2 separate regions of the Homo sapiens genome follow, and region 1 is linked to region 2. Evidence: promoter capture Hi-C in 16 types of primary human blood cells and fetal thymus (Javierre and others, 2016). All regions are on one chromosome and are shown on one strand. The core of a region is centred on a gene start or on the middle of the fragment in contact, and the rest is flanking DNA. Distances in the headings are between cores, read along the strand shown. Region 1 overlaps PPA2 (inorganic pyrophosphatase 2). Region 2 holds the start of CENPE (centromere protein E).

Region 1 (7,080 bases), core at 1,692-4,191, 2.3 Mb after region 2:
ATCACATTCTAGTTGGGGTGCAGAAGCAATGATTATGTGTTTATTCTATCACATATCATAAGCACTATAAAGATAAAGGAAAACAAATTAGGGAAAGTGAAGAATGAATAATGGAAGCGTTACCAATGGCAAATCCCTATGGCTCTGCAACAATCTCAATTCTTGCCTCCTCAGAAGAAAGAATTCAACTGAGGGGCAGAAGGCAGAAGGAGAGGCTGAGGCAATTTTACAGATGGAATCAGTTTATTATAATAAAAGGCTTTAGAGCAGGAACAAAGGGAAGGAAGGTACACTTGGAAGAGGGCAAAGTGGGCAACTTGAAAAGACAAATGCACGGTTTGACCTTTCAACTTGGGGTTTTATATGTTAGCATACTTCCAGGATCTTGTGTCCCATCTCCCCTGATTCTTCCCTTGGGGCAGGCTGTCTGCACACACAGTAGCCTCCCAGCACTTGGGAAAGGGACCATGTGCAACGTGTTTACTGGAGTTGTACGCGTGTTCACTTGAGGTGTTCTTCCCTTACCAGTCGAATGTCCCTAGGAGGTCACATACCAAACTCTGCCATTTTGCCTCTTAGTGCAAACGCTTGAGCCCACTCACCCAGTTCCTGAGATCTCATGGGAAGCTGCTGATCACCAGCTTCAGGTGCTTCTGTTTATTTGGAGACTGCCTTTCCCTGGTGCAGGCTGCAACCAATTAATATTTTAGAGAAACAGTTAACAACTGCCTGACCATCACCTGATGTTTGCCTGTCATTCCTGGTGTGTGTTGAGGGAGGGGAGCCCTCTTCTGCCCTGCTCATGCCTGACTAGCTACCTACTGTAACAGAAGGAGTAATATTTGATATTGAATGGTCAGGGAAGATCTCTCTGGTGGGTAACAGTTCAGCACAGATCTGAATGAAGTGAGGGAAGAGATCAAGTAGACCTCTAGGGAGGAGCACTGAAGGCATAAAAAGCACAGGTGTGCAGAGGAAAGAACATACATGGCATGTCTGAGAAACAGCAAGGAGGCCAGGATGGCAGGAGGACACTGATCAAAAGGAAAAGTGGCAAGCAATGAATTCAGAGAGGAGCCCAGTATTAGATCCAGTAGGACCTTACATGCTATGGTACATATTTCAAAAAATTTTTTGAGTGAAATGGAAAGCCACTGGCATTTTCAGCAGAGCTTGTACATTATCTGACTTACATTTTAAAAGGATGAAGGTGATTGCTGTATGGAAAGTAGACTATACAGGGCTAAGGGTGGAAGCAGGGTGAAGAATCAGGAGGTTACAACTGATCAAGGGAAAGATGATGGTGAAACAGAAAGTGAGAAGGGTGGAAGTGGACAGAAGGAATTGTCTTTTGGTACATTTCAAAAAAATATGCTAATGAGTTAGCTGTGGGATAAGAGTAAAAGGTGACAAGAAGAATGCCCAGGTTATGGGTTAGCAACTAAAGAGAGAAACAAGTTCGGTGAGGGTGGGGAGTCAGGAGTTCTGTTTTGTGCTGTTAATCTTGAGTTGTATCTTAAACATTTAGGTAGAAATACAGAGTAGAAAGCTGGATGTGTAAATTCTGAGTTCAAGAAGAGATGCGGCTAATGTTATAAATTGGGGAATCATAAACAGCGTCTAACACTATGGGACCTGATGGGATCACCCAGAGCAACAGCAATGGTCAGCAAACTCTGGCTTTATGGGCCAAATCTGTCACATGGCCTGGTTTTATTTTTGTAAATATAGTTTTATTGGAACATAACCACAGTCATACTTTTACTGTCCATGGCTGTATGTTACAATGGCAGAGCTGAGTAGTTGTGACAGAGACTGAATGGTTCGCAAAACCTAAAGTATTCCTTATCCGGCCCTTTACAGAAAACTTTGCCAACACCTGCCCTAGAGAGGCAGTATAGATAGAGAAGTGGGCTGAGGATTGAGCCCTGGGCATTTCAAAGGCTAGAGTTCGGAAATATGACAAAGGTTCAGCAAGGGAGAATGTGAAGGAGAAGCATCAAAACTAAGACAAAGTGCATCCCAGAGGAAAGCAGTTTCCTCTGGGAAAGACAAAAAAAGTGTTTCAAAGAGAAAGTGATGAACTGTAAAAAGTACTGCTGATAGGTCATATGAGGACTTCAAACTGACCATTAAGGTCGCAGCATGGAGGTGACAGGTAGCCCTGACAAAAAGCAGTTGGTAGAACAGTAGCGATGAAAGCCTAAGTTAGGTGATCCTTGACTATTTGGTTTATATTAAAAAGACTAGAAAAAATCACTGGGAACTCTGTGTTCCCACAGAGATGAATGGGTAGGAGGCTGGCTGTTATGCTGGGGTCCCCAAATACCAGCATGCAGAGTACTGCTGGGGCACCAACACCATCAGGGGTCCTACTTCCCTCTCAGCTCTTCATTCACTTTTACAGTTGGAACTAACACAACCCTCATGCATTAGACCTGCATGGGAAACATTTGTGTACTATTTGTAGTACAACTTAAACTAATCCCCCTGTGTTAAGTTCTACATCCATCTAACTCTCTATCCTATCTTATATCAACACACCCACAACCTCTCTGAGGTTCTGCAGCAGCTCGGCTTTTCCCTAAACTACGTCCCCTGAACACATATACTTAAGCTGGGACTTCTTCCACACTGCTTCATTAATAACCATATCTCCATTGGTTTTTTAATCTTTTATACATATTTCAAAATCTCAAGCTTTGGTGGCTCCTTATCTGTTGTTTTAGGGTTACCCTTTCTTATCCTCACTTACTATCACTTTAATAGGATATTTATTATAGGGGAAAAGAGATAAATGATTGTAGTCACTGTGTCATTTTTGCCATGGTATTTCACTGTCGTCAAAAATCAGATTGTGTCCTTAGGCATTAATTGCTAACCTCTATCAGGCCCATCAATCTACACGATATTGCCAAACAGTGGTCAAAATTCTCCCTTCAACTGGTCTGAAATCAGATTTTATTCTAGCATTTTCTAAGTTATCTATGTGATTCTTTCTCTCACAAGAGCAAGTTGTATCAGGATGAAAGTTTATTACTTACACTAGAGCAAGTGAGAAAATTGAATGGAATGTGAAAACCATACCTAATTTTATGTATCTATACCAGACAGCTAAATGTATGCCATATACCAACATATGATTACACACGACTACAAAACCACTTATAGAGATTCTTACTGGAAGCTTCAGCAATGACTAAAGCTAACTTTGTTTTATTTTCTGATAAAAAGATTAAGAAATGTAAAGGAGCCTAAAAACTTCAATAAAAATGCTTCCTCTGTTCCATATAGATCACACAATTCCTATTTCACAGCACTGATATAGAAAACGTTTAAGGTTTTAAGGACTGAAAAATCAAATAAAATACTTTTTCTATATTCACACAAAACCCATTGTGTTCCATTATATCAGTTGAAGTTCTATGATATAGGCCAACTTTAAAAAGTTACAGAAACTCATATTTAAGACTCAAACAAATTTTGTGGATTATTCACGGGAAGTTCTCTTTTAAGTCCAAAGATACAGCACTTTCAATGGCAGATTCCTCCTACTACCCAAATGACATAAAGAAAACCTACAGTAATTTCAACACAAGCACATGCTTACTATAAGTGACAAAGCAAATTAATTTTAAAGAACTGCTTGGTTCATTCCCAGACTAAATAAAAGCAACTTGAATTATCCACAGCACTATTTCTCTAAGTAAACCAGTTGCCTATCCCATAATAACAAAATTCCTAATTATGGAAAGCATAGCTTTTCCCTATCCTATGAGAACAGTATGAAATCTAAAATAAAATTTCAAGTTATTAACGAAACAAAACAAACAAAAACACGCAAGATATCAAAGGAATACTGGCATGCAGCATTAGGTCTTTGGCTCAATATAAGTGAGTCTAACTTCATTATGATTTCACAGTTAATTTAAAAGACTGCAAGTACCCATTAAAACTTTAAGACCTAGGAAGCCGGGCACAGTGGTGCATGCCTGTAGTCCCAGCTACCCAGGAGACAGAGGTGAGAGGATCGCTTGAGCTGGGGAAGTCAAGGCTGCTGTGAGTCGTGATTGCACACTGTGCTCCAGCTTGGGCAAAAGTATGAGACCCCATCTCTAAACAAACAAACAAACCAAAAAAATAAAAATAAAATGAATAAACAACAACAACAAAAAACCTTCTGAAACCTATAAATTAACAGGAACACTTCAAAATAATCAATCACATCACCTTATTTTCTCCCTTCACAGAATCTAATAATAAGGATTTTAGTCTAATGTCTTAAAGTCAAAAGGGAAAAATAAATAACATTTATTAAATACCTATCACGTGTGAGACACTGATAATTACACACATAGTCTCATTTAACTGCCACAGCAATTCTATAAAATTACTAGTGCTATCCCCATTTTATTTACGGAGAAACTGAGCTACCGGATGTCATCTGAAGGTAAGGGATGCCTCTGGTTAATTCAGTCGAGTGACTTGTCCAAGACGGTAAAGTCAGGACTACAACTTAAGTGGTTTGACTATTAGTTTAGAACTGTTACAGCACAGTTGCTTCTGGAAGTTGCAGAAATCATAACCCTGATGTCACTAAGATGTTAACAAATGTTCTGAGAAATAAGTACTCTGTGGTTCAGTTTTTGGAGAAGTTACATCCGAATTTTCCAGAACTTAAATAGGCAAATTCTTCTTCAAAAAAGTAATAAAATGGGAAGTGTTCTAATTTATTAAACCATGAAACCCTCTGTTTTAACGAAAACCTAATAATATACCATGGGATGCTTGTGTTCAACTAAGCAGTCTGGAAAATGATCATCTGGTCCAATCTCCTCATTCCATGGTTTTAAAAAATGAGATGCAGGGAGGTGAAGTGACAGCAAGATACTAACAGGGTCAGGGCTGGCACCAAGGAGGCCTGATGATTCCCATCAGGATACCCTTTCCCCTAATCATCCTGTCTCACTCTTTCTACAAAGTTTAACACCAATTTTTTTTTAAGTATTACATCAATCATTTATTCTGATTTTACTGAATGACAGTAAAGAGAAACCATTTACAGACATGAAGCTCGAAAATGTTCTACCTCCCAATGCACTAGTATTTCAGAGACTTGGAATATATTTGGAGATGTGGAAAATGATTACACTTTAGTAACACTGAGTAACAATTTTAGGCCAAGTATACTACACTCATATTTTTTTTGAAGTGAGACATTAGTCCACCCTAGTACTGCATACAGACACACTGAGTAATAAATATCCAATCTGTGATCATCTTTATAAAGGGCAATTTATTCGTTGCTTTCCCCTTACCCCATTCGCCCTAGAGTGGCTTCGTTTCACTTTGCCCTACCCCTTCTAGCAGGTAGTAAACAGTCCTGGCCAGTGATGCCATCTGGCGGTTAGTTCAGAAATTGTTTAACCAACACACCTTCCAATCAGGATCTTACCATCGGGACCCTCTCCAAAACCACACTCCCCTTTCTTCCAGTTTTTGCCCATTTACCTTAGTAAAATCGGGTTTTCTTCTTTCCTGCCCTGTTTATCCAACTGAATGAAAAACGTATTTTATTTGTGGCACTCTAGTTACAGAAAAATCATGAGTCCTAAGTACATTTGCAGCTAAAGAAACAAACCAACAATAAGAGGCCAACATACTCCCAAAAATGCCCCCATTCGACATCCTGTCTTAACAGAGACTGTTAGAATCTCCGTTATTCATCCAATGCCTTCAGGGAATACCAGTGCTGAGAAGGACCTTGAGGATCATCGTTTCAAGGTCAAAAGCTTCATTTTACAGCTGAAGAAACTGGCTCTGTGAGAAAGAACTGAAGTAACCACCCACCCAACAGCACACAGCGAGTTAACGGCAGAGCCAAGATTATGGCCTAGGACTCCCCATTCCAAATCCGGTACTGGGTCAACTACTCTGTGCGCTCCTGGCTTCTCAAGCCTGTTTTTGCTCAACCAGTGTATTTACTTTTTCCATAATTATAGTAATATTGTGAATCTCTGTACTATGCCTAACAGTGTCTAGCACACTTCATAAATATTTATTATTTGGGTATCTATTAATTACCGTACTTATTGCAAATCTAGAATACTTGCAGTAGACAGGCCTTTTTTCAATCTGCTTAAAAAGCGAACTGCCACTTCATAATTTTTTCTGACTATTCCCATTAATCATCACATGGTAACCTTTTAGAACATAATCCATTCAGAAATTTGAGACTTCCTGTTCACCTGATCAGTCTTAACCAAAGATAGAAGAAAATATGTGGCATAGGGTGAAAACTGCAACCAATTTTGAAGAAAATAGAAATTCTAGTACTAGTTGCATTATAATCACACGACTTTAGGCAAACTCTTCTTTCCCACAAAATAATCCTCGACCCTAAACTCATGTAGCATAACTGCAAATCTCTCATAAATTACAAATATCTATAATGATTATCGGTATTAACAATAGTAATTTATATTTTAGGCCCTGTGACTAATCAGTTTACATATATAATGTCATGTAATACTTGCAGCCCTATTTTACGGATGAGAAAAAACAAGGCTTAGCAACTTAAACTCGTCCGGGGTCACAGAGTTAAGACGTGAAGAACTCGAGGGCCTGCTTAGAACTGAAAGCCTCCAGAGCCAGTGCTCCGAAAAGGGGAGCGATAATGCAAGGCCCACTTTGATACTACCACTCCAAGGCTCTGCAGTCAGTGGGGAGTGAAGGCAAGCGACCGACATCGCTATTTTCTGTTACGGTTAACGTACACAGTGAAACAATGGGGTACACGGAACAATGAGTCACGAAGACCTGGGTCCTTTCTCTGAGCTCGGCAACTCAGGGACCCCCCCGAAGTCGCTTAGCCTTCTGGGCTTGTTCAGCTTGGGGAGGAAAAGGGGCTGCTCCGGAACCAACGAGGCTTTGGATGGTGGATCACACTCAGGGTGTAAACTTGTGCGTACCAAGTCAAGCTTCTGGGGAAAGAACCTTCATCAGAGTCCCTCCAAAAAAAGAAGACGCGCTGGATTAGGCATCCGCAAAGTTCCGCCTGCCTCTCCGACGTCAGGGAGC
Region 2 (6,963 bases), core at 3,363-5,862:
GATTTACAGTCTAAAGTACTACGTTTACAATACAAAATATATTTTATTGTTGTACTTAAGTAAAACCTAAAGTAATGTGATTACTTTTTAACCATCCAACCTAGATTTTTGTTGATCACATAAGTCTAAATTACATTGGCTGAGATTTTACAAAAAGACCCTCAAATTCTAAGATGATCTAAAGTGTTAAATGTGTATAGAAAAAAATTCTACTGCATTAGTGGTTAGAAAAAACATCAATTCCTATAACCCTATAGCCCTGACATTTAAATTTTAGGAGATGGCAACCATGACATAACAGGAAGAAAGATCCTCTGAATTTTTCCTACGACATTTTAGCTAGGAATTTGATGATACTGACAAGACTAAGCAGACAATTTGTAGATTTCCTCCCACATTTAGTTTAGTTAACAGTTCTTATTAAACCAAACATCCAGCAACTAAATTAAATTTTGTTTTGGCCCATACAGTACATTATTATGGTTCATTAATACTCACCAAATGGGATACCTTAACAGATCCTTCACAATTAGAAGGTTCACCCTTCTCTCTGCTTTCCAAAATCTAGATAGAAAAGGCAAGCTGTAGAAAAATTAGTGCATTCTTACTTGGAAAGATCTAACAGATAGATAGAATTACCTACCATCCTAAAGATGGTATGAGAACGACTGCTTCTTTGATTCATTTTTGTTTCTCCATAATGCCTGCTCTCTGTAAAAATGAGTTATATTTCAGCTGCATATATAATAAAATCCATAGAAACACAATAATTTTTATTTTAACTTAAAAAAGTATGATTTGAGGTCCAAACGTGCTTGATTGAAAAGATAGTTTTTACAAGTGTTCTAAAGAAATACAGCATAAAGTCTTACTTTCTCCCTTTGTAATCCATTTCAAAGCCATTTCTGATGTATATACAACTTCTTCTGTGAGATCAGCAACATACACATTCCTCTGAAACAAGTTTAATTATGGAAAGATTAGAGAAATAGAAGTCACAAGTTTGCTTTTCAAAAGAAGGTGCAAACTATTATAGAATTCATTTGTGAAAGTTAAAAGTGGCAAATGGAACCATAATTCTGTAGGAATGTAACAAATAATTCTATGAATACCCACAATTTATTTCACATACCAAAGCACAACAAATTCTAACCTGATACTTCCAACTTGCTATTTTTACACTTAAACCAAAATATTAGAGCTGTCAGTATTTTAAAACTATTCATATTGTTTAAAAGATGAATATAAATACTTCAAAAAAACCCTCACATACTATAGAAATAGGAGACACTTTAAAAACTATAGAAATTAAAGGTAAACATTCAAGAACAATAATCTCAATAAGTCAGTCAATTTTAAAGCTCCCTTAAGTCTGCTACTCACATTGACATCTTCTCGAATAATTAAAGGTTTCATTTTTTGAGTGCCACAGAGTAAATCTGTAATGGTTTCATTGTATATTTCCATGTAAGATACACGTAAGAGAAATTCCCTATCAGGAAACTAGAAGAAAAAAAATTATATAAAAACACCAGGAAGCATCCAATTGTGAAAACCTAATGCTAAATGCTCATGTGCTTAAAGAGGTAAAATGTATGTAAAACAAACTAAGAAACCCCTTGGTTCTACTGTTGACAAAATAATGAACACAAAAATATAAAAGCATCGTTACAGAAATAATGAAAAGTGAAGTACCATAAAGCTGGGAGAACACCAACTCTAGGCTCAAACTCTAGGCTCAAAATAAAACCCTCTCAAAAGATGTTCTTATTTTAATAAAAATGCTAATTTGAAACCAACTAACTCGGTTGCCTATTCTGGCTTTCTGCTTCCCTTCTTTTTTTACCTACATCCACTTTCTACTGTTCCTTTATAATCACTGATAGTTAAATGGTTAGGTGGAGCTAACCATTCTGATAACATTTTCTTGTTCCTTAATGCCTACTTTTTGTTGAGAGTATTATTGTTGCAGAATTCAAGAGAAAGAATAAAAGAACTTTAAGCTTTATAAAGTAAGTTGTGGAGATAAAAGTGAATCTATGCTATGCCTTTCTTCTTTCCCCATGGATAATCAAACAATAACTGTAAATCTACTTCCTTTCATCTTTACAAGAGAAATACACTAAGACTGGTACCCAGTTTTTACTAGTTTTACCTGTACGTACTAGAAATCCAGTTAAGTTACTTACCTTCTTAATTTTTTGGAAAATGTCATGAATTGCCCTGGGTATAACTCCCAAATGATCTTCTGAACCCATCATGGTATATGTTTTTCCTGAAGCAGTCTGTCCATAGGCAAATATAGTACCTGCAAAAAACAAAACACACATACGCAAAGATTAAAAACAAACCTATAATGGGTAAAACTATGCATGCTTGTTGCACAGACGCCCAAGACTAAAATGTTTCTGCAGCATTGAGTGAATACAAACCATTGTAGCCTTGTATGGCAGAATCGATGATTGGTGCTGCTATTTCTTCATACACATTTTTGGTAGTTTCATTACCATGAAAGACACGATCTAAACAACAACAACAACAACAACAACACAGAAGTTAAATCAAATGAGTCCACTGTGTTTTCATTCCAAATTAGTAATTATTCCCAAAAGTAAAACTGTCAGAATGTAGGATGATCAACTATTTAAGACACAGTATTTTTTTCAACTTTTTGGTTCTCTGAAAATACCCTTCCCTAAGGTAAAATGAGTTCATTTTCACACACAAAAAATACACTACAAGTCAACTTTTCTATGTTCTTTCAAGAGGCAATAAGGTATAGTGTTTGCACATGGGGGTCTGGAATCTACCTAGATGCAAATTAGATAACTGTGATTATAACTGTTTTAAATGCCAATTGGTTACCTTACTTAAATACATGATGGATAAACAATTTTGTTTCCAGTGAAGCAGTTTATAGAAGGCTTAGTCTAATCTTTAGTGACAAATCTAATATTATTGATAAGCCTTTTGTACTTTTAATAGCAAAAGGATAACAAGGTAACTTTTGATGCTATTATAAGCTTACCAAAATTGAAGGATTTACTTCCATCAACTTGATAAATGACATTATTGTCAGTTTTCCAGTAAACTTGGGCAGTTTCTCCAAGTGATTCTTCTCTAAAAGAATAAAAACACCGCATTTTAACCAGTCATAAAAGTCATGTCATAGGAGGAATAATTGAAAAGATTTCACCTGCTAAAGAATATTTTGAAAGATAGTAACATAAGAGAATGACAGAAAGTCCATCTTTGAGGATTCAACTCTTAAATGGAGCTTCAGTGACCTTCTGCCGCCTCAAAAGTGTTTTCTTGTGAAGGCTTTCATTCTCACCCTCTCCCCCAGTACTGGTAAACAAAGGGATGGATTCAAAATGCAACTCTGATTATGTCTGTCTTGCTTAAAATTCTTAAAACCTTTTGGAAACTTATGAAATCCTCAGCAGGGCACGAGTCCTAGATCATGTCATTTCTCTCTTCCATTTTCCTCTGAATTCCTAGATACATCCTAAGCTCTACCTGAAGGTCTTCCCCAAATGACAGATGTAACCTCTCTGTGCCTGGAATACTCTGACTTCCCTTTCCATTAAGTAACATAGGGATTATTTCACTCATGAAAAGCGTCAAGACTTTTCTGACACCAGTTCACCCCACGGGAAGCTTTCGTCTCTGATGGGCTAATAACTCCTCTAGCAAACATTCTCTACCTGCCCATCATAACACTTGTCAAAAGGTATCCTAATGGTTTCTTTATGTAGCCGTTTAAGGCATTAGATAATGAGCTCCTCAAAAATAGGAAATTCCTGATCTTGGTATTTGCATTTATTAAACCCCGTGTTCAATAAAAATTTCTCACACACACAAAGTGTTAGCATTTCGGGTCGAGGGCCAGAAGCTAGTGAAGCAAACCGATTTCATTTATTCCTCTTCCTGCTTTTTCTCCCTAGCACTTATTACCTACATATCACCACTTAACATCCTACATTTTCAACTTTACTTTCTGTCTCGTCCCATTAGAATGGAAGAGCCACTGGGCAATGACGGGAGTGTCTGTGTTGTACAAAGTCACTAAAAAAAAATTGATAAATATTTGTAGAATGATCTTGAGTGACGATTGAATGTAATGTGACAAGACAGACTAGCCCTTGTCTTCAGAGGGTCTGGAGACAGCAGTTAGGTGTAAAATGACTAACTGTGATGAGGGCCAGGAAGGCACGGTCCCATACGACTTCTCTAGGCGGGGAATGGGGCAGGGAGGAGCAGATGCCGCAAGGCAGAGCAGCACAGAAGGGAAGGTCTGTATGTCAGCGAGACTGAGTTAAATTTAAGTGAATCTCGCAGCTGGAAAGTATCTTCTAGATCTCCGATCCTCCCCTGTCACTTTACAGACCCTGAAACGATGGCCAGCAGCCGAGTCACTAGACAGCAGAGCCGGGAAGCAGCGGCTCCTGGAAACATCGTAGGCCTCGCCCCTCCGGCTCAGGGCGGCGCCGCAGGCCCAGCGGGCACCGGGCCGTGGTGTGGCCCCCCTACCTGCTGTTCAGCGGCCGCACTCGCACGCAGACGGCCACGGCTCCTTCCTCCGCCATCCTATCAGGCTGAACTGGTCCCAGGAAAATGGCCAGGACCCTCCGCGGCCGGCACTTCAGGGCTCACAGGCCGCCCCGCCTTTAAATTTAAAATTTCCCAAACGCCGCATCTGATTGAGCCGTGGCCTCGTGACGTCATGGGCCATTCCACGTGCGGAGCAGCGCGGGGGACGCAAGGCGGGCGGCGTGACCACTGCTAAACAGGAGAGGGGATTTAAAGGGCCCAGCAGAGAGTCGGAGGAGAGGGCCGAAGGGAGGGGCTCCCAGGAGTGGGCAGAGAGTGGTGGTCCTGGAATACCAGAATACTATTATCTGCCAAAAGCTAGCGAACGTCATCCTCCACCCCATCCTTAAAAAGTTTGGAACCTGTAGACGAAACTAGGTAGAGATACATGTATTTTTCACTACCCAAACAGAATTGCCGTCTTTTAAAGAAACTGCACCAACAGTTTAAAATAAACTTTCAACAGCAAGAGTTGAAATTCGCTGTCCAGTCCAGAAACGTGACAAGCCTGTTGTGCGCCTTAGAAAATCTGAGTTTAGGCTTTTCTCCTGTTTCTCTCTCTCTGTAACTCGTTTCCATTAGCTGTGGCTTCCTCAGAGGTTGAATTAGGGAAAATAAATACCGAGGACTGAAAAACTCATTGAGTAATGGGTTGATACTTTTTTTTTCTTCTTTTTTTTGGAAACGGAGTCTCGCTCTGTCACCCCAGGCTGGAGTGCAGTGGTGCTTATCTCTGCTCATTGCAGCCTCCACCTCCTGCATTCAAGTGATTCTCCTGCCTCAGCCTCCCCAGTAGCTGGGATTACAAGGTGCCCGCCACCACGCCCAGGTAATTTTTGTATTTTTAGTAGAGACGGGGCTTCGCCATGTTGGCAAGGCTGGTCTCAAAGTCCTGACCTCAGGTGATCCACTTGCCTCGGTCTCCAAAAGTGCTGGGATTAAAGGCGTGAGCCACCGCTCCTGGCCTGGTTTGTTACTTTTATTAACTAAGAGGGAAAGCTATTCTAAATACAGTGATTTTTTCCCAAAAATAATGCTTATTTTCCCTTTCTTCTCTCTCTCTCTTTTTTTTTTTTTTTTTTTTTTAAATAAACATGAGTTCTTGCTTTGTCACCTAGGCTAGAGTGCAGTAGGCTGAACACAGCTCACTGCAGGCTCAACTCCTGGCCTCAGCCCAAGTGGGGTTCCCACCTTAACCTCCTGAGTAGCTTGGATTACAGGCACATCACAAGCCCAGATAATTTTTAAATTTTTTTGTAGAGACGGGGTGGTGGGGGGATTAGGGTAGGGAGTGGGGTCTCACAGTGTTGCCTAGGCAGGTCTTGAACTCCTAGGCTCAAGCAATCCTCCTTGCCTTGGCCTCCCAAAGTGCTGGGATTACAAGCATGAGCCATCGTGCCTGGCCTAGCTTTTTATGTGTACTTTAGAAAGCTATCCAAGATGTTTCATTTATTAAGAGAAATTCAAGGTGCACGGTTATGTACACAGAATATGTCTGGATATACATACATAATTTTTGGAAAGATACACAGAATATGCCTAATTTCCTTGCAGAGTGAGGACTGAGTTAGATGGTAGACTGAGTTAGATGAAAGTAGTTTCTTTCAATTTAAAGAAACTAGTTTATAGATAAGAACAGTAAAGAAAAATGAGTCTATTCATTCAAGATTTGTTTTGGTTAACTAGCTGTGAGGTAGTATAAACAACTCTTTTTTATTGCTAGACTGTAAAGATACTTGGTTGTATCTAGTAAGAAAATACAGAGTTAAGGAAGGTATATTTTAACTGTTGTTTTTGTTTTAATTGTGGGCAAATATGAGACAGCTGAAGGCAAGGAACCTATGAAGAAGAAGGGAGATGTGATTAATCAAAATTTCTAATGAGACAAGAGGAGATTGGTTCACGAGTAAAGAGAAGTCATCAGCCTTTCATAGTTGTGCTTATGATCGTTGCTATGACTGTCTTTTTTTATCATCACAGCAGGTGACATTTATTGAAGATTTACTATATGCCAGGCTCTCTATTATATGCTCTCTATCCAATTTTTTCATCTGACTTTCCAAATTGTTCATCAAGAAATATTCATTGAACAACTGTTATGTGCCAGATACGGTTCTAAGGTCAGGAAGCACAACAGTAAATAGAATAGACACAGTACCTGTTGTTGTAGAGTTGCTATTCTCTTAGAGGAGATGGGTAATACAGAAAAATCTCAGTCTCTCTCTCTCTCTCTCTACACACACACACACACACACACACACACACACACACACACACACATAATGTAATGATTAATAGGATCAGGAGACAGAGAGAGAGTGATAAGGTGGGTTAAGAGTGCTAGTTTCTTATGAAACACATTCTTGTGGG

The links. The method cuts DNA at HindIII sites, captures the fragments that hold promoters and counts their contacts. A CHiCAGO score of 5 or more calls a contact.
Region 1: a fragment that was not itself captured here is called in contact with the fragment with the promoter of CENPE in region 2 in 1 of 17 cell types (fetal thymus); the score reaches 5.1 in fetal thymus.

Annotation. Positions count from the first base shown.
Region 1 is chr4:105,466,369-105,473,448 of GRCh38, forward strand. The region is part of intron 1 of PPA2 (inorganic pyrophosphatase 2); the gene reads right to left. Among named protein-coding and RNA genes, the nearest start is that of PPA2, 4.2 kb to the right of the region's middle. RefSeq lists an enhancer at 6,875-7,044. The HindIII fragment of the contact is 487 bases long and covers 2,699-3,185 here.
Region 2 is chr4:103,193,731-103,200,693 of GRCh38, forward strand. It overlaps CENPE (centromere protein E), which reads right to left and starts at 4,613. Exons shown (of 49, transcript NM_001813.3): 1 at 4,534-4,613; 2 at 3,029-3,120; 3 at 2,433-2,522; 4 at 2,190-2,308; 5 at 1,384-1,503; 6 at 873-954; 7 at 644-711; 8 at 499-564. The coding sequence starts at 4,589. RefSeq lists an enhancer at 4,475-5,029. The HindIII fragment of the contact is 3,749 bases long and covers 3,659-6,963 here.